6 separate regions of the Homo sapiens genome follow, and all the other regions are linked to region 3. Evidence: promoter capture Hi-C in 16 types of primary human blood cells and fetal thymus (Javierre and others, 2016). All regions are on one chromosome and are shown on one strand. The core of a region is centred on a gene start or on the middle of the fragment in contact, and the rest is flanking DNA. Distances in the headings are between cores, read along the strand shown. Region 1 overlaps GTF3C1 (general transcription factor IIIC subunit 1). Region 2 overlaps GTF3C1 (general transcription factor IIIC subunit 1). Region 3 holds the start of GSG1L (GSG1 like). Region 4 overlaps GTF3C1 (general transcription factor IIIC subunit 1). Region 5 overlaps GTF3C1 (general transcription factor IIIC subunit 1). Region 6 overlaps GTF3C1 (general transcription factor IIIC subunit 1).

Region 1 (3,860 bases), core at 117-2,616, 570 kb after region 3:
CTGGAGTGCAGTGGCGCGATCTCTGCTCACTGCAACCTCTGCCTCCCAGTTTCACGCCATTCTCCTTCCTCAGCCTCCCAAGTAGCTGGGACTACAGGCACCCACCACCACGCCAGGCTAATTTTTTATATTTTTAATAGAGACGGGGTTTTGCCATGTTAGCCAGGATGGTCTCAATCTTCTGACCTTGTGATCCGCCCGTCTTGGCCTCCCAAAGTGCTGGGATTACAGGCGTGAGCCATTGCACCCGACCAAAACATGTTGTTTTTAGAAATTTGGTAAATAGAGAAAGATAAAATAGAAATTACCCATAACTGTATCACTCATAGAGATAATTACTACTAAGTAATTATCTTCTTGGTAAGGTTTTTGTAGTCTTTTATTGCTATGCCATACTTGTATGTACACGGGTATGTGTGTGATCTCCCTTTAAAAAAAAAAGCTGAATTGAAACTATATTCACTCTTTTATTGTCTGTGCTTTTGACTAAAGAATGTTTTGTATTTTTTGCATCATTAACTTTTTAGACTTGATATTAAGTAGAGTCATAGTATTCTTATGTGTCTAATTTATTTAACCATAATATTTTCTATTTTTGGACATTTAAATTCCACTTTCTTACTACTGTTGAGTAGGTATTTATTATGACATGTTGATGAATACCTTTTGGGTAGACATAGATTGGCGGCTCCAGCATTTTTTCCTTTGGGTAAGGATAGGAGCAGAATCACTGGCTTCAAAAGGAACGCGTGTTCTCTATCTCATCTTTTCTTGTTTAAAATATAAATGTATATATTCTTATGTTGCCCCCGGGAAAGGTTTAGCAATTTCTATGCCTACCAGCAGGGTATGAGGGCACCTGTTTATTGCCCTCTGCAGTGTGGTAGATGGGCTGGAGGGGAGGGGCAGCGAGGCCAAAGGCAGAGATGCAGGGGCACTTGGTGGGGCAGGAAGGAGAGCCCAGTGGGCAGGTTCAGGGAGACTATGGTCAGAAAATAGTGGCGAGCACTTTTTCAAGATTCTTGCAGGTCGCCCTGGCCCTCAGGGCGAGCTGAACCTGCACATCACCTCTTCAGGTGGACAACCTGGAGGAATTTCTGAACGACCCGCTGAAGAAGCACACGCTGATCCGCTTTCTCCCCAGGCCCATTCGGCAGCAGCTTCTGTACAAGAGGTGAGGCCATTGAACCTGACCCAGAGTAGTCGCAGGTCCAAACAAACCCTTAAGTCAGGGCTCTAAGCCATCATTCACCAGGAAGAGGAAAAGGTTTCTAACTTCCAGCTTGCAAAAACTCAAGATTTTTATTAAGTTATTAATATTAATGAAGTATGGGCTGGTATATTTTATTACTTGATTTGAAGGTTCTTTTAAAGTAAAATCTGCTGCTAGTGTCTGCAAGTATCGGAATTTTTTTTCCCTTTCATTACTTTTACTTTCCAAATCAAATCCCTAGTGTCGGGTTGATCTCTGTGGCCCTGGTTGGGTGTTAGGTTGGGTAGTTCTGGGCCTTAGTGCAGTGTGGGCTTGAGGCTGGTCCTCCAGTGACCACCAGGTGGAAAAGAGAAGAAGGAAGTCGCACCCCTCACCCCACATGCAGACCCCTGCGGCCGGCTGCGAGTGTGGTGTGATGAGAACCTCCCGCCCCCTCTGTTTTCTAGGCGTTACATTTTTTCGGTGGTGGAGAACCTTCAGAGGCTGTGCTACATGGGGCTGCTACAGTTTGGTCCCACGGAAAAGTTTCAGGATAAAGATCAGGTAATGTCCCTCAAGCCCAAACGAAGGAAATTCTGATTGTTAAACGGTCTCCAAGCAGCCAGACCCAATGTGGGTTCTCCCTGTCTGGTGTCTCCCCTTAGGTCTTTATCTTCTTGAAGAAGAATGCAGTCATTGTTGACACTACCATCTGCGACCCACATTACAACCTGGCCCGCAGCAGCCGGCCCTTCGAGAGGCGCCTCTATGTCCTGAACTCAATGCAGGATGTGGAAAACTACTGGTTTGACCTGCAGTGCGTCTGCCTCAACACCCCACTAGGTGGGTGTCGGCTGTCTCGGCTGAACCTGGCTGCTTTTGCTCCTTTCTGTGTGCTAACTGGGATTTAGGGCTAGAAAAGCCTAGGAGTTGCCTCAACCAGTGGTATGTTCCGAGTGCTCCCCAGAGGCCCAGAGCACCCCTGGGGCTCCCTTGGAAAGGAAAGTGGCGGGCCTTGAATGGGTGGGGTGCTTCCGGTTCCCCCACTCAGTTGAGCCCAAGTAGCTGCACTTTGTCTTCATTTGTTCATTGAGTAGGTATTTATTAAACACACCGGCTGTGTGTCACTTCCTGTGCCTGACAGTGCCACAATGAGAACACAGCCCGCCCTGCCTTCGTGAGACTCAAAATCTAGTGTGAAGAGGAGACACAGCTCACAGGAGTGCAGTGAGGGCCTAGGTGTTGGTTGGGGTGGTGTTTATTCCAGGGCTCGGGAACAGCCTTGCTGAGGAGGAGACATTGGAGCTGAATTCTATAGGATGAGGCAGAGCCAGCCAGGGCCAGAGCTGGGGAGGGCATCCCAGGCAGGGGCAGTGACACAGGCTGAAGCCTTGAGTGGTATGTTGGAGAAAGAGAGGAGGCCATGTGGGTAGGAGGAGAGTGGCCGTCCACTGGTGACAGTGAGGAGGACAGGACAGGCCTAGAGGTGTTTTGGAGGGAACTGATCAGATGTGCTGGTGACTTGGCTGAGTTGGGCTTTGTGGGGAGCCTCTGCCCACACCCCTCTCTCTCCCTAGAAGGACCCTCCCTCCCACACTGGCTTCTCAGATGCCCACTCCTACTTCAGGTGTCACCTCTCAGAGAAAGCGTGTCCACACCTTTATTAGCATCATTCCATTTCATCTTGGGAGTTCCTTGTGCCTAGAATAGTTGGCTTCCATCCCCATGATGTGTCGCAAAGTGTCGGGTGCACAGTCGGCATCCTGTAAATGTGGATCAAATGCATGGAGGGTCTACGGAAGGCAAGAGAGCCTCCCCTGCAGTGCTTTTCCTCCAGGCCTTTCTCCACCTGGCCTTTTCCTGCCACCTCTACCAGGAGAGAAAGGAAGCCACGTTCAGCTTGCACCTCCAAGAGGAGTTCCATTCCGCTCCTCCCTTCTTGAAGCTGAAAGATCCAGTATCACACTTTGATTTTTGCAAAGTGGGAGTCACACATTTTGCTTGGCAGAATTATTTAATGCCAAGAGTAATAGCACTTGTATTTAGAAACTTTCATGGGTCCAGACGTATTTTAGAACAGTGTGTTTCATAGAATCCTCTGGCATTCAGCAGTGAGCTAGGCTTTTGCCAATTTAGATTTTAATAATGCCCTAATTCCCCTGCATTTTATATCTAGATAAAAATTTGTGAACCAGCATGAATTTGCACCAGAGTTTTTCAGGCCTGACAATTGGTGAATTTCCATCCCTTTAGGTGTTCATGAGCAGAAATGGCAAAGGCTTATTGAGCCCCAGTAATCAGGCATTGATTGTCCCTTCATTCAATAAACATTTGAAGAGGTTCTACCCCCAGGATGAGGGGAAAAGCGTCATATAATGAGATGCAATCATCTTTTAGAGCAGGTGCTGCATGAACATTAGCCTGCGTAAGAATCACCTGAGCAGCATATTAAATGCTGATTACTGGGCCCTACCTGGAGAGTCTGCATTTTTCACAAGCAGACTTGTGGTGCTGCTGTTATTTATATGAGAGAAGCTTTGCCTTAAATATTGTTAGTTTCAAGGGTCCATTCAAACGGGTGACCTTGGGCAAGCTACTTGTAACCTCCCTGAATCTCAGTTTATTTCTAAGCTGAGAACTCCACTGCCACCACCATATGGGCCAAGGT
Region 2 (4,007 bases), core at 659-3,158, 590 kb after region 3:
ATTGCATCTGCCTGAGCTGAGCAGTGCCTGTGGTCTCATGGTGCCCTGCTGCCCCCTCTCTTTCAGCGTGGATGACATCCACTTTCTGGTGCTTCAGAACCTGATCCAGAGCACGCTGGCCCTCTCAGACAGTCAGATGAAGTCCTACCAGTCATTCCAGGTGGGTGTCGGCTGCCCGGCAGCACAGCGGGGATGTGGGCCCTTCCGAGGCCAGGCTCGTGAGGTGCTGGCCCCTGCCCTTCTCCGCTGTGGGCTCTTGGGCTGATTCCCCCAAAATGCCAGCCCACATGTCTTTCAACTTTATTTTTTTATCGTTGTTTTATTTTTATTTCTTTGTGTTTATTGTGTATGTTTATGTTATACAACTGGAGGATTTGATGTACGTATACATTGCAGAATAATCGTCACAGTCAAGCCAATTAGCACATCCATCACCCCACATAGTACCTTTTCTCATTATGGTGAGCACACTTGGCGATCTCTCCTCCTGGTGCATTTCAAGTGTACAGCACCAGATTGTCACCTGTCATTACCAAGCTGTGAGCCTCCAGGGCTTAGCATCTCATAGAACTGAAGCTTTGCACCCCTTGGCCAGCTTTCCTCATCTCTCTCTTTAGTCTTTAAAGCATGGGGATGGGATCTAGTGACCTCCACAATCCCTCCCAGAGCTGAGGTTTTTAAGTCTAATGTTTAAGACAGAAAATGAAGCAGGAGAGGAAATGAGGCATGGCAAAGGACCTGAGAAAGTAATTGAGCTATACGGCATAGCTTTTCAAATCATCACTTTGGAATGCCAAGATATTCTGGTTGTGGGAGGTCACTGGATGGGAAAGCTGCCTTTCCGTGGGCAGTGAGTCATCTGTCTCCCGAGGACACAGGTCCACGCGGCCGCTCTACTGCGGCTGAAAGAACATGAGAGTGAGGAAGGGAAATCACATCGAACCCCCGGTGGAGCCTGGGAAGTCAGTGGTCTTACTACTCTTATACAAATGTGGGCACTTGAGGTTCAGAGAAGTTAAATCACACACCCAAGACCACATATCTCAGTCATCACCCAAGACCCCAACAGAGAGGTGCTGAGGGTCCCCTGCCAGTGCTGCCCAGGGCCTCGTTCTCCCCCAAGTCATCAAAAGTGAATTCTAAGGAGGACCCGTTCATTTTGTATTTAATCACTAACCCTAAAAATCTGCTCCTGGCTTACATTAACAAGTCACCTGATTTGGAATACGAGGGGAAAAAAGAATAAGAAAACAAAGGGACTTTCCTAATCCCGCCGATGAATTCAGATGGGTGAGGACCCGATCATTAGGGCGCCTCACAGTCCACAGAGAGATCTTATAGCATGTTAAGCCCAAGCCCTATTCTCAGAGACTCCAGTCAAGAGCAGTGGAGTGGGGCCCTGATAAGAGTGTGCCACCCCTCCCCAATCCCGAAGGGGCCCATGGGCCACCCTTGCAGAAACAGCAGTGTTGACCCTGGCGGGGCGCTGCACGTGCTTGTTACTTTGGCCACAGCGGGGCAGGGAGGACTGGGGGAAATGGAACTGGTTCAGGAAAATGCCACGCTGGGCTTGAATGCCCTGCTTCAGAGCAGCACCCTGGCCCTAGTCTTTAACGGCCATGGCCAGACCTCAGCACACCCAAGACAGAGTGTGCATTTGATTTCTCCTGTTTTAATCACCACCTGGAGGTTCTCTGTGCCTCCTGCAGGGACACATGGGACCATCAATCAGGGAGGCCCGAGAAATGTCCTCATACACTTGCTGTGCATCCCTTGAACCCTGTGTTTTATTTCCTCCTGCCTGTTTTACACATACGGTCAAGTGTACACATTTGGAGTGGAAGGCTAGTATCTGTGCCGTGCGCCCTCTGCCACCCCAGCATTTTGTAGATGAAAGCAAAGCCCTGTCTGAGCCTGAACTTGCAGAGAAAAGAATAAATAGTATTGGGTGAAGTTCCAAATAAACAGTCCACAGACCGTATTTTATTGGTCTCACGCTTGTTTAAAAGGAAAAAACAAAATTTTTTTTTCAAAAAATGTTTTTTCCAACATTGCACACAGGAGTCCAAATTTCCGACTTCTGGCTGTGGGGTGGGCCTTCCAGCTATCCTGCTGATTAGTGGCTCAGAGCTGGAGGGGACTTTGGGGATCCTTCCCACTGTACCCCACCTCCAAACAAGAAAGCCCAGCCCCAACGGCAAAAGCTGGGCCCCCTGCCTTCTAGCCAGGCCCATCCCCAGTATTATTCCCACGGCTTTTTCCTCCTCCAGTTCCAGTTCCATCTCCAGGTGGCACCTGGGCTCTGATGTGTGGTACCGAAGGCCTAGTCACTCTGCCTTAACCCCCAGGGGCATGGAAAGTCACCTTAGAAAGACCACCGGCCTGCGTAGCCTCCCTCCCCGAGCAGGAAACAGGACACTTCTTTAGTGACTCTTGAGTGAGGACTGGAAGGCCAACAGCAATGTCAGAGCCCCATAGGGGACCCCGCGAGGCTCCCCTCAAGGTTCCGGGAAGCCAGTGGAAGGCTGCAGGTGGGCTCACTGTGCCTGTGACAGCCCAGCCTCTTGGAAATGTGAGTGGGTGGACGATACCCCCCAACTCACCACACATGGCCTGAGCGCTCCTATCCTGTTATGTGGGAATACACCCATTCGCTAGTTATATTCAAATGGAAGAGAAGAGCAAAGTCACAGAAGGCTTGTCACAAGGAGTGAGATGCAGCTTCCCTCCAGTGCTCTAGGGAAGGATGATGGTGTAATGGCCACTCCCAGCTTCTCCCGCCCACCACATGGAGAGTGTTCCCCCATAAGGTCTGATGGTCTGCATGCCCAGGACTGGCGCACAGGTGCTGTCTAGAGGAAGCAAGTTGCACAGGCTTCATTCAGATACGCTCCAGGGAACACCTGGGTGCTGCCCCAGAGCCCCAGCTGACCACCGCACCGGTCCCCGGTCCCCTTGTGTCCCTCCACTGGAAGGAAGGTGCAGTGGTGAGGTTGCTCTTCTCTCCTCTGACCCACCCCTGCCTGACAGTGTGACCTCAGAGGATCACTTAAAGTCCATGTGCCTCAGCCTCCTCTGTCACTGAAGGTCCTGGGGGCAGCACCTAAAATCCTTAGACCATGACAGGGATTTTTCTTGGCCAGTGCTTTTGAGGAGACAGTCCTATAGGAGCTCTCTCAGAGGATGGCAAATGCTAGATACTCAGGAACTGCTGGTTGCTTGCCCTTTGCAGAAGCTTGGAGTAACAGAGACTCTGCTGACTGCACAGTCCTTTGAGCTGCTTGTTCACTAGGCGGGGCCCAGGTCCATGAGACTTAGCAGGCTGAGCCATGAAGTCACCATGGCATGTCCAGCAGAGGTACTTCCTTCCGCCTAGGCACTGGGGTGGCAACAGCAAGAGTTGAATCTAGGCCAGGCATGGTGGCTTACGCCTGTAATCCCAGCACTTTGGGAGGCTGAGGCAGGATGAGGCCAGGAGTTTGAGACCAGCCTGGGCAACATGGTGAAAAACCCATCTCTACAAAAAATACAAAAATTAACCAGGCATAGTGCCTGTAGTCCCGGCTACCCAGGAGGCTGAAGCAGGAGGACCGCTTGAGCCAGGAGGTCGAGGCTGCAGTGAGCTATGTTGGTGTCACTGTACTCCAGCCTGGGCAACAGAGTGAGACCCTGGCTCAAAAAAAAAGGAGTTGAATCTGTGTTCTCCTGGGACTTCCAAACAATGAGTAAGCAAATGAGATTGTTTCAGGTGGCTGCTATGGAGAAAATAAAACAGGATAATATAAGGCAATTGACCTCAGAGGAGGAGAATGGAGAGGGATTTGTTATTTGAGGGGAAATATTTGGGCTGAGCCCTGAATGTTGAGGAATCAGCCAGGCAAAGATTTAGGGGAGCGGCAGGGCAAAGGCCCCAAGGCAGGATGCCTCAGCTTTTTCAAGAAATGTAAGAAGGTCCAGGAGGCTGGAGGGCAGTGAGCGAGGGGTGGTGTTGGGGGACGTGAGGCCAG
Region 3 (3,756 bases), core at 1,248-3,747:
TTCAAGGGATTCTCCTGCCTCAGCCTCCTGAGTAGCTGGAATTACAGTTGTGCGCCACCACACCAGGCTAATTTTTGTATTTTTAGTAGAGACAGGGTTTCGCCATGTTGGCCAGGCTGGTCTTGAACTCTTGACCTCAGGTGATCTGCCCGCCTCGGCCTCTCAAAGTTCTGAGTGATGTTCTTTCTTACGAACTTTGTTCACGTTCTCTTTTCTTCCCAGTGCTGAGCATTCAGTGGGTGGCTCAGTGAGTGGAGGAGCATCTTAGATGGAAATTCCAAATCCCTCTGTGCATCCTCAGGTGTTTCTTGAGAGAGTGTGGTCCCTGAGACATATCTCACCTGGGCTCTCCTGGCTTTGAACATGCAGGACAGGGTTCCCAGCTGTAGGTCACCGAGCCCTGCTCACATGCACACCAACCACAGCCTCGAGTCCAAAGAAGTACCCTGTTTAGCACACATCGAGGGGCTGGTTTTCATTGGTACACAGACACTCATGATGAATACTGCATGCCAGTTTAAAAGTGCTACTGGAGGCTGGGTGCGGTGGCTCATGCCTGTAATCCCAGCACTTTGGGAGGCCGAGGCGGGCAGATCACTTGAGGTCAGGAGTTCGAGACAAGCCTGACCAACACGGTGAAACCCCGTCTCTGCTAAAAATATGAAAAATAGCCAGGCGTGGTGGCAAGCGCCTGTAATACCAGCTACTCGGGAGGCTGAAGTATGAGAATCGCTTGAACCCAGAAGGCGGAGGTTGCAGTGAGCTGAGATTGCACCACTGCACTCCAGCCTGGGCGACAGAGTGAGACTCCATCTCAAAAAAAAAAAAAAAAAAAAGATGCTACTGGATTCTTTACAGCTGTTTGGCGATGATGTATTTTCTCTGTCAACCAATACTCTCAATGCCACCATTATCACATGGAGGTCCTCTCTTTCAAAATAGTTGAGAATCTCTTGCACAGTGCCAGAAAAGGGCTCTAAAAGCAAGTTTGGAGACCCTTGGCCATCCTTCGTGCCTGCTCTTACCAGGGACGTTGCCCACAACGTTTTCCTCTCACCTACCCCCCGGCAGATTAGCAGCAGCTGACAGTGGGTGCCGGCTCACCCACAGGAGTAAGGCAATTCATAATCGGTTAACCTTGAATTCTGCAAGGCCTGCCACTCGGCAAGCCGGGGGTTGTCGGAGCAGTTCTCAGCTTGGGCAGAATTCAAATGAGCTCTTATAATCAACATGCAATTAATTGTTGCACGCCCTGAGCATCTGGGCAGTAAGTGCTGTGCAGCGCGAAGGGAGTTCAGGGAGCGTGGTCATCTTAGAGCAGAGGTGGGGACGGGGTTGCACACAGTTTCCACGTTGCACAGGAGAGCCTGAAGAGGTTTGTCTGAGTTTGGTCAACTGATCTTGGTTCAGATGTCAGTAACAGTGAATTATTAATTGAGTCTACTGTGTGCCAAATGCTTTTTGCAGCCATGATCTCATTACAGCAGCCCACTGTGATATACCTTGAAGGGGGGGGGGTCCTCCCTTTTTTATAGTTATGGAAATTGAGGCTCAGAGAGGGTAAGTGACCTGTTCAAAGCCACACAGCTGGTCAAGCCCTAGATATGCTTGATCCCAAAGTCAGTATGTTTGGCCACCCTGCCCCCACCCGAATCTTGAAGATTCTACCCACATTCACATGGTGTGCATGTGAGCAGGGTTGGCAGCCCCTGTAGGGCACCACTGCCTGGTAGCTGCAATAACTTTGTGGCCGGCATGGGCCCTCCTAGGGTTCTGCTGTTTGGGATCTCAGGTGGGTGCAGTGGGCTGTCTGGGGTACCCTGTTGCCACTCTTCCTGCAGTTGCATGCCATGGTTGGGAGCCCAGATGACAGTTTCATCCTTGGAGGGGAGCTCTTCCCAGATGCTGGAGGTGACACCCAGGAGACAGAAAAACGTTTCAAACCCTATAACCCAATACTCCAGGAGGGGCGCCTCCTGACAGATTCTGCCACTCCAAGTCCAGCATGGGTTGTCTTATCCAGGGGGTCTTGCAGCTCCCTGGCTGTGGGAAGCCCTGCAGGCTCTGCTGTTTAGAACCTTTGGAAAAACTCCTTTCTCAGGGTCTGGTGCGGGGGTCCTTTTGGGGATCCCCTTCTGGGACAGGGTCCTGCTGGTCCGTGTCCCTCTTGGGGAGCCCCAGCAGGCTCTGCCCTTGTCTCCTGGGGCAGGGCCTCTCTGGGTCTCATGAGATGCCCGCTCCCGGCGGGTTTTGTTGCCCCACGTCCGCCGTGGGGATCTTTTCTCAGGAGCGCCTTGCCTGGGATTCTCCTTGCGTCTCAGACCCTCACCCTGGCTCGGATTTCTTTCGGGGGCGTCCCTCCACTCCCAGGCCCCCGCCCGCGCCCGGCGTGGCGGCCCCCTCTCCCCGTGCGGGCGGGCTCCGGAACAGTGTCGCCGGCCGCCTGCAGGTGTCTCCCCACGGAGGGGCGCGCGTCCCTGCGCCGTGGCCGCTGCCAGGCGCCAGCGGCTCCTAGCCGAGGTGCACTCGCGCTCCGGGCTCCGGGCGCGCCGTAGCCGCTCCTCCACCGCCGCCCGCCCCGCCAGCCCGCCCCGCACGCCCCCCGCGCCGCGCCCCCACCCCGGGGTTGGGGGGGGCATGGGCCCGCGCCGCGTCCGCCGCCGCCGATCTCAGGCACCCGAGCCCCGGGGCGCGGCGGGCAGCGGCCGCTGACGCGGGGCGCCAGCTGCCAACTTCGCGCGCGGAGCTCCCCGGCGGTGCAGTCCCGTCCCGGCGGCGCGGGCGGCATGAAGACTAGCCGCCGCGGCCGAGCGCTCCTGGCCGTGGCCCTGAACCTGCTGGCGCTGCTGTTCGCCACCACCGCTTTCCTCACCACGCACTGGTGCCAGGGCACGCAGCGGGTCCCCAAGCCGGGCTGCGGCCAGGGCGGGCGCGCCAACTGCCCCAACTCGGGCGCCAACGCCACGGCCAACGGCACCGCCGCCCCCGCCGCCGCCGCCGCCGCCGCCACCGCCTCGGGGAACGGCCCCCCTGGCGGCGCGCTCTACAGCTGGGAGACCGGCGACGACCGCTTCCTCTTCAGGAATTTCCACACCGGCATCTGGTACTCGTGCGAGGAGGAGCTCAGCGGGCTTGGTGAGTGCGCGCGGGCGGCGGCCAGCTCGGCTCCGGCTCCCCCGGGGCGGCGCGGCCATCGAGGCCCGAGCCCCGGACCCGTTCGCCCTCCTCCCGCCGCCTGGGCCCAGCTCCCAGCGCTCCGCCTGGCTAGGGGCGACGTTCCGGGGCAGGGGGCGCGCGCCGTTCCGGGGCCGGGGACCAGCATGGGGGGACGTGCGGGACGCCCCGCCGTGGAGAGGTGCAAGGCAGAGCTCCTACCCGCTGCGGACGCCCCGCGGCTTTGGGGACGCTCCCGCGCCCCGGGAAGGCGCCCACCCCCGCTGCCGGTCGGAGGGGCGCGCGCTGCTTTCCGCTCCTGAACTCATCTCCACGCTCGCCCCCTCCTCCTCTTCCTTTCGCGGGGCACTAGATGCCCCCACCCACCCCGGAACGCCCCTGGGGGTGGGGGTGATGCAGGGACTCCTGCTACCAGCCGCCCCTCCTGCCGCAGATCCACAGACCCGGGAGCCTTCCACCCCCATCGCCAACCCACGCCGAACCTCCCAGACGGGAGTGGGGAGTGGGGGAGTCCCGCGGGCTCCCGGAAAGCCGCACCCGCCCAGAGGCACCCCTATTGCCAGACGCCAGGGAGCCCTCTGT
Region 4 (3,643 bases), core at 182-2,681, 530 kb after region 3:
AGCTGGGTCCCCCGCAGTCCACCTGCTTCCTGTCACCTCTCCGACATGAGGCAGGGAGGCAGGGCCATTTGTCACTCCATGAGCACTGCTGTTTGTAGTAGGGGAGAAGTGTTTTGCTTCTCTGTGTCTCAGTTTATCAGAGTAGAAAATCAAAGATAGATGGAGAAGGCCTCTCAGGAAACCCTGGCAGAAACGAAGGAATTTCCTACCGGCTTAATAAACAAATACCTGGCCACCGTGTGGATTAATGTTACTTGTCCAGCCCATGCAGACTCTGGAGATTGAAACCCTCTCTCCTACCAAGTCACTCGGGGGCAGGGAGACAGGGCTAGTCTGGTTTCAGGTCAGCCCTGTGGACTGTGTTAGCAGCAAGCCTTGACTGTTACTGGACAGCCTTTCACTTATTCATTGAACAGATACTTCAGGGAGTGTGTATGTTGAGTTAGAACTGTGTTCCACAATAAGATGGTGAAAGTTAGCCAGGATGACAGGTCTCACACTGTCGTGGAGCTGTCTAATCAGAAGGGCAGGCGTGTGAACACATACCTGGAAGGATGTAGCTGAGCCAGTAGAGGGAAAGGGGTGCTTTCTTTAGAGAACTGGGGAAAGCCTCAAAGAGCTGTGCCAAAAGCACAGTTGAGCTGGGCTTTTCCCCACATAGACAGAGGGGAAGTGGCATTTGAGGGAAAGGAGAAGAGCTGGTGCAAAGGCATGAGTTGTGGAAGGCCATGCAACATGCTTAGAAGTGGGCAGTAATCCAGAGGGCAGCTGGCACATTGTGTGGCTGGATAGGAAGGTAGGGGCCCAATCAGAAAGGACTGGAGTGCTGGCTGAGGAGTGGGGACTTTAGCCTTGAAACTTTAGCCTTATGCACTGCTGCTGGCCGTGTAGAAATGAAGAAGTTATTAGCCAGGGGTGGTGGTATGCACCAGTCCAGCTACTCGGGAGACTGAGACCAGAGAATCGCTTGAGCCTGGGAGGTGGAGGTTGCAGTCTAGGCATATGAGCTGGTGGAGGGAAGGGGATGGGAAGAAGGTGGCGAGGTTGTGGTCATGAGGGCTGGAATTGTTTGAGAAACATTTTGGAGGTGAAACTAACAGGACGTGGTGAGTGCCTGCACTGGGATGTAGAGGTGACTGAAGAAGGAGGATCTCGAGATGAAGCCAGTGAGTTTCGCTGGAGTGGCTGCTGCTCACTGAGGCAGCGCAAAGGCAGGCTTCTGACGCAGGGATCATGTCTGCTTGCTCACTGCGGGCCCCCACGATGAAGACAGTGCCTGGCCCCCTGTAGAGGCTCAGTAAATATTTGCTGAATGGGAGTTGAATAAATAGGTCAGAAAGAGGAGCAGATTTGGGTGAGGAGGAGGCACAGGACAAATCTCAGTTTCAGACATATTGGGTATGAAGATCTTCCATGACTATCCCCTGGTGATGTCTAGTCAACAGCTGGAAATTGGGGTCACAGAGAGCTGAGCAGGATTCAGTGAATAAATTAGCCTATAGATGAAGCTGAGGCCATGAATATGGATGCTGCCTTTTGGGGGGATTTGGTACGAAGACTCACTGCCTCTTTCTCTTTCTGCTGGCCAGATTGTGCACGTCGTTGATGGCAGCCCCTCAGAAGGCAAGACTACATCATCCTTCCCCTCTTAGGATGGTCCAGGGCTTAGTGCCATATGTCAAGGGCTGGGATCTGATGGATGAGTTTCCATGGGGTCTTTTTATGATGCTGGGGGCACGGCTAGATTAACGATAAATGCCATGTACAAGCCAGTGGCTTTGAATGAGCCATATGTGAGTCATCTGTATTGTTTTGATAGCCATATGTTCTGCCACCCAAGGGCTGGAGTGCTGGTTAGCCTGGGAGGTAACCACACATATGTGGCGGCGGCAGCCCACAGACATTTGCTCCCTGTCTCTCCCCCCAGAATGTAAGAGGAAAGCTGTAAGATTCAGTGAACAGCTCTCAGTCACGAGTGCCTCCTGCCATTCGCTCCCTTGCTGGGAGCCATGGTAACCTGCCAGGGGCTGCAAAATCACATGGCAGCAGTGCCCAGGAGGGTGATACCCACAAGCAAAATGGGCCATGTATAAAATAAATTTTTGATACAGGATAGGTTTAAGAAATTAACTTTCCTCTTAACTACCATTAGAGAAAACCAGCACAAAAATGGTGATAAATGGCAACTGACGTTCAGTTTCATTGTTGGAGGGTCTGATTGGGGAGCGCAAAGGCTGTGGCCCCCTGGAACCGGGTGGGCCCTGCTGAAGAGCAGCTGATCAAGGCTTCTGTTCACTGTTGCTGTGAGGAGCTGCAGTCCTAGCCTTTGAAGAGAAGCCAGAATCTAGGTCTTTTTTAATGTGAAATCACTCACTTTTCAATTTTGGCAAGTAAATTACTTTCTTGAAGAAAAACATTGTATCAATTTTAAAAGCACCGCCTGCACTGGAGGCTGCTGTTGGTCACCCCTGCAGGGGAGATGTTCCTAGGATCATTTTGGTTTTCAGCCTTGCAAAAATAGGAGTGATGAGATGGAAATACCCATTATCATTCTGTTGTAACTTCAGAGACCACATTTAAATTTTCACAATTTTTTTTTTTTTTTTTGAAACAGAGTCTCACTCTGTCACCCAGGCTGGAGTGCAGTGGTGCAATCTCGGCCCATTACAACCTCTGCCTCCCAGTTCAAGCAGTTCTCACCCTCAACCTCCTGAGTAGCTAGGATTACAGGCATATGCCACCGCACCCAGCTAATGTTTGTATTTTTAGTAGTGACGGGGTTTCGCCATGTTGGCCAGGCTGGTCCAAACTCCTGGCCTTAAGTGACCTGCCCGCCTCGGCCTCCCAAAGTGCTGGGATTACAGGTGTCAGCCACTGCACCCAGCCTGTAAAATTTTTTAACCTATTTTTTCCCCTTTTTTTTCTCTCCTGCCCATGGGGGACAGGGGTGTGTATCTGTGTGTGTGTGTTTGTATTAGTAATACACTTACATGGTTAAAAAATCAAAACAACATGAAAAGGTATCAGATGAAGTCTTCAGTCTCCACTCCTCCACTCCTGCCTGCCTCATTCTCACCCCTGCACACCCTTCCAGGATCTGGCGAAGCGAATCTCTTTCCCCCTCTAATCAAAAGGTAGAATCGTTTATATCCTGCTCTGGACCTTGTTTTGGTCCCTTGACAAGGTAGCTTGGCAGGCTTTCCTCATTAGTACCTCAAGATAATCAATTAATTCAGGTCCTGAACTTGTGTTCATTTATATGACTTTCTAGTCATTTCAGACATCTTGCTGTGTCTAATAGTAGCCTTTAAATTGTGTTTTGGCAGGGGCTGTGCGAAAGGACGTTTAAGCGTCTGTACCAGTATATGCTGAACGCCGGGCTAGCCAAGGTGGTGTCTCTTCGCTTGCAAGAGATCCACCCTGAATGTGGACCTTGTAAGACAAAGAAAGGTAATGCAGAGTCTCAGCTTCTGTTCCCTTGGCTGGCTGGCTCTCACTTCTGTCTTCTAAGCTTCAGCCTCTCTCTCTCTGATCACATTCTGCCTTGTGGCATAATGATTTCACATATTTATTTAACTCTGCGCCTCAGTGCCTGGCTCAGGACTGTCCATATAAAAAGTGCCTAGAAAATGTTTGCTGAACA
Region 5 (3,778 bases), core at 245-2,744, 520 kb after region 3:
GGTGCAGCAGCTCATGCCTGCAATCCCAGTACTTTGGGAGGCTGAGGTGGATGGGTCACAAGGTCGGCAGTTCAAGACCCGCCTGACCAACGTGGTGAAACCCTATCTCTACTAAAAATACAAAAATTAGCCTGGCGTGGTGGCGCATGCCTGTATCCCAGCTACTCAGGAGGCTGAGGCAGGAGAATCACTTGAACCTGGGAGACAGAGGTTTCAGTGAGCTGAGATTCAGCCATTGCACTCCAGCCTGGGTGACAGAGTGAGACTCTGTCTCAAAAATAAAATAAAATAATGTTCGAGACAAAACTTAAAGGTTGGATTTAGGCAGCCAGTTGGCAAAGAGGACTGTTGGACAGAGAACAGCAAATGTGAAGTAAGTGGCTGAAGTGTGGAATTGGAGGTAGGGAATGAGGAATAGCTAGGACTGTGCTAAGATCCTTAATACAACATGTTATTTAATTTTTACAGAAACCTTAGGAGATGGGTAATATTCTCCCCATTTTCCTGAAGAGAAAATCGAGGCCCTGAGGGGTCAAGTGGCATGCTAAAAGTCAACTAGCAAGGGAAGAACCCAGACTTTGAGGAAGGTCTGAGTTCAGATTCCAGCCAAATTGGACTGGAATCAAGTCTTTTAACCTACTTAAAGAGTTTATCAGCCTGTAATCCCAGCACTTTGAGAGGCAGAGGTGGGCGGATAACTTGAGGTCAGGAGTTCAAGACCAGTCCAGCCAACATGGTGAAACCCCATGTCTACTAAAAATACAAAAATTAGCTGGGCGTGGTGGTAGACGCCTGAAATCCCAGCTAGGTGGAGGCTGCAGTGAGCCGAGATTGTGCCACTGCACTCCAGCCTGGGTGACAGAGGGAGAATCCATCTCAAAAAAAAAGCTTATCCTTTATCAAAAGGACAGTGAGAAGTCACTGAAGAGAGGGTCAGACTAGGGGCAAAGAGTGAAGTTGAGAGATTTTTAGTAATCTAGTCATGGTCTGGCTTACCATGGTGGGCGTGGGGATGAAGAGCACAGGCAGTCAAGACATAGTAGGCTGCTGTTTGGGCACCTGAGCGAACCCTGATTCTCATCTCTGAGGCTGGGAACACGGAAGAACAGCGTGGGGGTTGAGTCTGGGGGAGGTGGGGACTTTGCTGAAGAGACATGTGACACATTTAGCTTCAGGTTCTTTTGAGTTGTCCAAGTGAAGAGTCTTAATTAGTAAACATCTGGCTTCGTGGGAGTGAAAGCAGGCCAGAGGGAGGGACTGAGCTAGACATCTGTGAGTCATTCCTAGCAGCTGGTAATTAAAGCAGCTGGCTAAGATCAGCCCTAAGAGAGAGTGTAGTGTGGTTGGAGGTCTTGAGATATAGCTCTGCAGTGCACCTACATTTCAAGGCTGGATGGAGGGTGAGGGACTTTCAAAAGAAGACTGAGGCGGTGTGGCTGGAGAGGTAGAGGACAGTCAGGTCAGAGTGGTGTTCTGGAAGTTTGGGAGGAGACAGGATCATTTAAGAACGGAGGGTTGGGCTGGGTGTGGTGAATCATGCCTGTAATCCCAGCACTTTGGGAGGCCGAGGCAGGTGGATCATTTGGCCAACATCGTGAAACCCTCTCTCTACTAAAAATACAAAAATTAGCTGGGTGTGGTGGCAGGTGCCTGTGATCCCAGCTACTAGGGAGGCTGAGGCAGGAGAATCGCTTGAACCCAGAAGGTAGAGGTTGCAGTGAGCCGAGATTGCGCCACTGCACTCCAGCCTGGGTGACAAGATCAAAACTCAAGTCTTAAAAAAAAGGAATGGAGGGTTAAATGGTGCAGATAACACAGAGGGGGCAAGGAAGGAAAGGGCTGAAACATGTACATAGGATTTAGCCGCAATTAGACTAGTGTAGGATATGAGTGAGATTTCAAAATAAAACTCGACAAGCAGCCAGGCAAGGTGGCTCACACCTGTAATCCTAGCACTTTGCAAGGCTGAAGTGGGCAGATTACTTGAGCCCGGTAGTTCAAGACCAATCTGGGCAACATAGTGAGGGGAAAAAAAATTATATATATATATATGTATGTATTTTTTTTTTTTTTCAAAAAAAAAAAAACTTGACAAGCTTGGCTAACTGCATGAAAGAAGCACAAATGAAAAATGTCTCCATGGTGTTGTAAGAGGCACATGGAAGAAAGCGGTAGTAAGAGGGGAAAGAAGGGACTTAATTGGAGCTGGGGAGAGGTAATCATATTTGGAATGGGAGGCATTTAATAGACAAGTGAAGACATTGGATCTGTATTTGGAGAAAAAGGACTGAGGATTCAAAGGTGAGACTTGTTAACATGCAGGCGGTAATGCAAACCATGAAAATGGGTTAGGATATTAGAGAGATAACTAAGGAGAGATGGAAAGATGAGATCTTAAAGGGAGGAAAGCTTTGGCCACTTGTGGTGGCTCCCACCTGTAATCTCAGCACTTTGGGAAGCTGAGGCGGGTGGATCACCGAGGTCAGGAGTTCGAGACCACCCTGACCAACATGGTGAACCGTCATCTCTACTAAAAATACAAAATTAGCCGGGCGTGGTGGCACACCCCTATAATCCCAGCTCCTTGGGAGGCTCAGGCAGGAGAATTGCTTGAACCTGGGAAGTGGAGGTTGCAGTGAGCCAAGATCATGCCATTGGACTCTAGCCTGGGCAACAAGAGCAAAACTCCATCTCAAAAAAGCGGAGGAAAGCCTTGAATCATTTCGTCCAACTTGGTGGTTTGGAGACTGAGTACCAGATTTGGAGGGAAACAAAAGCCCATGACTTGGCCAATAAGGAGGTTTAGGTCCCAGCACCCAGCTTCTGGAATAGTCTGGGGAGTCCTGGAAAGGTCTGCGTTCTGTGGGATAGAAAGGCAGGAACCTGCTTGTCAAGATTATCTGCATTTATAAGGCAGGAAAACTGACTGATCTCACTTCTCTCTGATCTCTGCTGGAGGTTGTCAAAAGAACACAGCCAAGCACACATTATATCTGAAGCTGAGTTGGGCTTTGATATTTGTGTTTTTCTCCTTAGGTATGAAGAAATTGATTTGGAAACTGGAATTTTGGAGTCTAGGAGGGACCCGGTGGCTTTGGAGGATGTCTACCCCATTCATATGATCTTAGAGAATAAGGATGGCATCCAGGGCTCATGCCGCTACTTTAAGGAGAGGAAAAACATTACCAATGACATCAGAACCAAGTCCTTGCAGCCTCGCTGTACAATGGTGGAAGCCTTTGACAGGTAACTATTTTGCACCATCAGAAATTCCTGGGAATCTGGCCGGGTACGGTGGCTCACGCCTGTAATCCCAGCACTTTAAGAGGCCGAGGCAGGTGGATCACTTGAGGCCAGGAGTTCAAGACCAGCCTGGCCAACATGGCAAAACGCTGTTTCTACTAAAAATACAAAAATTAGCCGGGTGTGGTGGCACATGCCCATAATCCCAGCTACTGTAGTGGCTGAGGCATGAGAATCACTTGAACCCAGAAAGCAGAGGCAGGCTGCAGTGAGCCGAGGTCATGCCACTGCACTTCAGCCTAGGCAACAGAGTCAGACCCTGTCTACAAAAAAAAAAAAAAAGGAAAAAAGAAATTCCTGGGAATCTGAGTGCTTTGAATGTGTAGTCAGAGCACTTGGATCTGGCCCACAACCTTGGAGTCTGTCAGAGTTCACTAGCCCTGCACTACGCCAGTTCTTGGCCTTCATTCGCCTTCTTCACTGGGGTCACGGGTCCTGCCTTTCTCTTTCCTTTGTGCTCACAGTCCTTGAGCAC
Region 6 (3,710 bases), core at 135-2,634, 550 kb after region 3:
CTATTGATTTAACAGGACTAATAGCACCTCGTTATTCCTTCCATTTGCATTGCTTTCTTCACTCATTCTTCTAAAAACAAAAAGCAGCTTTATGGAATACATTTTCAGGTCTTGTGGCCCAAGATGAGCCATTTTTAAAAGTCCAGACACGGTGATATGTGTGACCTTTGTGGGGATCTCTGTCTCTGCTGACATGTGCTGTGATATTTCAGAACCCCTCACCTCCCCCACGCAGCACTGCTTTCACTCATTGCTGGCAAACCCGTGCTTGTGTTGCCAGGGACCGACGTCATGGTTCGGTGCCTCAAGCTGCTGAAGGAATTTAAACGGAATGACCATGATGATGACGAGGACGAGGAGGTCATCTCCAAGACAGTGCCTCCAGTGGACATTGTGTTCGAGCGGGATATGCTCACACAGACCTACGACCTCAGTAAGTCTTGTTCCCATGCCAGCTTGGATATGGATCCCGAGAATTTGAGTCAAGAAGCGCTTTGCCCACATGTCGAGAGAGAGCTCTGCTATAGAGAATGTAATACAATGGGAAGTGCCTTGGTTCCCCAGAAGGGTTTAGGCTTCAAGGTCAGATTGGAGTTTGAATCCTTGCTCTGCCACTTAGCCATATGATTTTAATGAGGTCTCTGAGTCCCATTTCCTCATCTGTAAAGCAGGCATCTTAGAGTTCTCCAGAGACACAGAATCAGTAGGAAAAATAAACATAGATATATAAGAGGGAGCTTATTAAGGTAATTGGCTCATGCAATTATGAATGCTGAGAAGTCGCACTAGCTCGTCTGCGAGCTGGAGGCCCAGGGAAGCGTCAGAACTAGGGAAGCCGTGGGGGCAGGTCCCAGTTACCTAAGGCTGGAGAGCCTGGAGTTCTGATGGCCAAGAGCAGCAGAAGAGGGGGCTGCAGCTCCAGAAGAGAGAGAGGGCAAGTTCGCCTTCCTCTGGCTTCTTGTTCTGTCTGGGCCCCTGGCTGATTGGATGGTGCCTGCCTGCATGGAGGGCAGATCTGTCCCACTTAGTCCACTGAGCTACACACCAATCTCCTTCAGAAACACCATCACAGACACACCCAGAGATAAAACCTGACCAGTGATCTGGGTATCCCTTAATCCAGTCCCATTGACACCTAAGGTTAACCATCACGTGGTGAAAGTATCCACACTAGCACATTATGAGGATAAATGACATCAAATTAAAAGAGCTGCTATAGGGCCTGGTGCATAGAAAGCACTGAGAAGAAGAAAGCTATTACTATTATTATTCAAAGGTTCAAGAGCTACCTGTTGTTTTCTAAGATTGGTCTGGAGTTACCACAGGCCCGGAATTTATGATGAATGGGCAAAGAAAACATTCTCTCCCATTCCTAACCCTTCCCCCAGGTCCCCTAACTTCTGTGTGGGACATCAGTGGCCTAGTGTCACAGGCGGTGTGGCCTCAGGTTCCTGCAGGGAGGAGGACAGAGCAGAAGGTGAAGTGGCTGCAAGGGATCTGATTGAGCTGTTGGGTCGGCCCAACCTTTCTGGAGGGCTGTTTGGTAGCTCCCTTGACGTCCCTCAGAATGGGTTCCACACAACACAGCTGGGGAAATGCTGCCCTTAACCCTTTCTTTTTTCTTTTTTGAGACGGAGTTTGACTGTGTCGCCCAGGCTGGAGTGCAGTGGTATCTCAGTTCACTGCAGCCTCCGCCTCCCAAGTTCAAGTGATTCTCCTGCCTCAGCCTCCCAAGTAGCTGGGATCACAGGCATGTACCACTGTGCCCGGCTAATTTTGTATTTCTTTTTTTTTTTGAGATGGAGTCTCGCTGTGTCGCCCATGCTCGAGTGCAGTGGTGCGATCTTGGCTCACTGCAAGCTCCGCCTCCTGGGTTCACGCCATTCTCCTGCCTCAGCCTCCCGAGTACTTGGGACTACAGGCGCCCATCACCATGCCCCACTAATTTTTTTGTATTTTTAGTAGAGACGGGGTTTCACCGTGTTAGCCAGGATGGTCTCGATCTCTTGACCTCGTGATCCACCTGCCTCGGCCTCCTAAAGTGCTGGGATTACAGGCGTGAGCCACAGCGTCCGGACTAATTTTCTATTTCTTTAGTAGAGACAAGGTTTCATCATGCTGGTCAGGTGGGTCTCGAACTCCTAACCTCAGGTGATCCACCCACCTCGGCCTCCCAAAGTGCTGGGATTACAGGTGTGAGCCACCACACCTGGTTAGCCCTTTCATCCCTACTTTTTAGCGTGTTGCTAGATCAGTATAGGAACACATCCTAGTCATCTTTCTTCATTCTGCTGCTTATTTTTATGCGTGTACAACATAGCAAAACCTCCTTTATTCAGACTGATTTTACTAGGCAGCCTCAAGCCTTTGGATGCATCAGGAAATAAAGAGGAAGATACTTCTTTTTTTTTTTTTTTTTTTTTTGAGACGGAGTCTCACTCTGTCGCCCAGGCTGGAGTGCAGTGGCGTGATCTCGGCTCACTGCAAGCTCCGCCTCCCAAGTTCACGCCATTCTCCTGCCTCAGCCTCCTGAGTAGCTGGGACTACAGGCGCCCGCCACCACACCCGGCTAATTTTTTTGTATTTTTAGTAGAGATGGGGTTTCACTGTGTTAGCCAGGATGGTCTCGATCTCCTGACCTCGTGATCCGCCCGCCTCAGCCTCCCAAAGTGCTGGGATTACAGGAGTGAGGCACTGCACCCGGCCAAGAGGAAGATACTTCTGAAAAGTCAAAGAGCTTTGCAACCAAGTCTGCCTTGCGGCTCATGTGCTTTACTGCTGGGACTCCCTGCCCACCTCCCAGTTCCTAAGCCGACTCCTTCCTGGAGTTCTTAGTTCCAGCTTAGTAGGATGCATTTAAAGGGCCTCTGAGCGGCAGATATACTCACAATCCTGACATACACCAGCTTGTGACAGCCCAGGAGTAGACAAGCTACACACAGCAACAGCGGGGGCCAGTGGTCTGCGAGTCATTTACTCCAGGGCTGAGGAATACCATTTCCTTTCAAAGTCCTCGCTTGCACGACTCTTATGGGACAGTGCAGTAGTCAGTGTCCACAATGCCTCTGTGTCTATCAAGAAATACTGGGAAATGAAGAATACACATTAAGAAAAGTTCTGAATTAAAAATTATTTTGATGCTTCTTAAAGAGGTCAATTTCATTGATCTGAAACAGTTCATTCATGCGAAAGGGCTAATTTCCTGCCGTTGGGTAAAACCTATTGGGTTCTTGCATTTTAGTATTTCAGCTGTTGATCACCTGACATTTAGTGTTTTAACGTGGGGCCATGAGATAGTAAGCATTCAAACATTAGCTGTTAGTATTACTAGCCTAGTATAGTATATTACTCAGAGGCTTGGGAGGGAAGCACGCTTGGGAGGATAAGGGAGAGAAATGGCGTATGTTTTGTTCTGTCTGTTAATTTCACAGCATCAAAATGTCTGCTGAAAAAGTGGGCTGGAAACTGACTTGTGCAGAACAGCTCCTTTGCAGCGGTTTGGGTTCACGTGTATTGTTTCTCACAGTTGAGCGCAGAGGCACGAAAGGAATTTCCCAAGCTGAAATCCGAGTGGCTATGAATGTGGGAAAACTAGAAGCAAGAATGCTGTGCCGACTTCTTCAAAGATTCAAAGTTGTCAAGGTAACATCATGAGCCTTCCCCCAACACTCGTTGTCTTTGGAGGTGCTTGCAGTGTATTTGAGAACGAG

Evidence for each region. The method cuts DNA at HindIII sites, captures the fragments that hold promoters and counts their contacts. A CHiCAGO score of 5 or more calls a contact.
Region 1: a contact is called between a fragment that was not itself captured here and the fragment with the promoter of GSG1L in region 3, in 4 of 17 cell types (M1 macrophages, megakaryocytes, M0 macrophages and 1 more). The highest score is 12.1, in M1 macrophages.
Region 2: a fragment that was not itself captured here is called in contact with the fragment with the promoter of GSG1L in region 3 in 1 of 17 cell types (M0 macrophages); the score reaches 5.5 in M0 macrophages.
Region 4: a contact is called between a fragment that was not itself captured here and the fragment with the promoter of GSG1L in region 3, in 4 of 17 cell types (M0 macrophages, M1 macrophages, M2 macrophages and 1 more). The highest score is 9.4, in M0 macrophages.
Region 5: a fragment that was not itself captured here is called in contact with the fragment with the promoter of GSG1L in region 3 in 3 of 17 cell types (M1 macrophages, M0 macrophages and endothelial precursors); the score reaches 7.3 in M1 macrophages.
Region 6: a fragment that was not itself captured here is called in contact with the fragment with the promoter of GSG1L in region 3 in 2 of 17 cell types (megakaryocytes and M0 macrophages); the score reaches 7.5 in megakaryocytes.

The regions. Positions count from the first base shown.
Region 1 is chr16:27,490,513-27,494,372 of GRCh38, reverse strand. GTF3C1 (general transcription factor IIIC subunit 1) reads left to right here. Exons shown (of 37, transcript NM_001520.4): 17 at 1,077-1,174; 18 at 1,660-1,756; 19 at 1,858-2,035. Among named protein-coding and RNA genes, the nearest start is that of IL21R-AS1, 39 kb to the right of the region's middle. The HindIII fragment of the contact is 4,726 bases long and covers 1-3,729 here.
Region 2 is chr16:27,472,604-27,476,610 of GRCh38, reverse strand. GTF3C1 (general transcription factor IIIC subunit 1) reads left to right here. Exons shown (of 37, transcript NM_001520.4): 29 at 67-160. Among named protein-coding and RNA genes, the nearest start is that of IL21R-AS1, 21 kb to the right of the region's middle. The HindIII fragment of the contact is 2,659 bases long and covers 579-3,237 here.
Region 3 is chr16:28,062,455-28,066,210 of GRCh38, reverse strand. GSG1L (GSG1 like) reads left to right here and starts at 2,497. Exons shown (of 7, transcript NM_001109763.2): 1 at 2,497-3,135. The coding sequence starts at 2,787. The HindIII fragment of the contact is 8,058 bases long and covers 1-3,756 here.
Region 4 is chr16:27,528,405-27,532,047 of GRCh38, reverse strand. GTF3C1 (general transcription factor IIIC subunit 1) reads left to right here. Exons shown (of 37, transcript NM_001520.4): 6 at 3,327-3,450. Among named protein-coding and RNA genes, the nearest start is that of GTF3C1, 20 kb to the left of the region's middle. The HindIII fragment of the contact is 4,165 bases long and covers 1-3,513 here.
Region 5 is chr16:27,544,782-27,548,559 of GRCh38, reverse strand. GTF3C1 (general transcription factor IIIC subunit 1) reads left to right here. Exons shown (of 37, transcript NM_001520.4): 2 at 3,037-3,246. Among named protein-coding and RNA genes, the nearest start is that of GTF3C1, 3.2 kb to the left of the region's middle. The HindIII fragment of the contact is 1,208 bases long and covers 891-2,098 here.
Region 6 is chr16:27,508,472-27,512,181 of GRCh38, reverse strand. It overlaps GTF3C1 (general transcription factor IIIC subunit 1), which reads left to right. Exons shown (of 37, transcript NM_001520.4): 7 at 281-433; 8 at 3,527-3,642. Among named protein-coding and RNA genes, the nearest start is that of GTF3C1, 40 kb to the left of the region's middle. The HindIII fragment of the contact is 8,426 bases long and covers 1-3,710 here.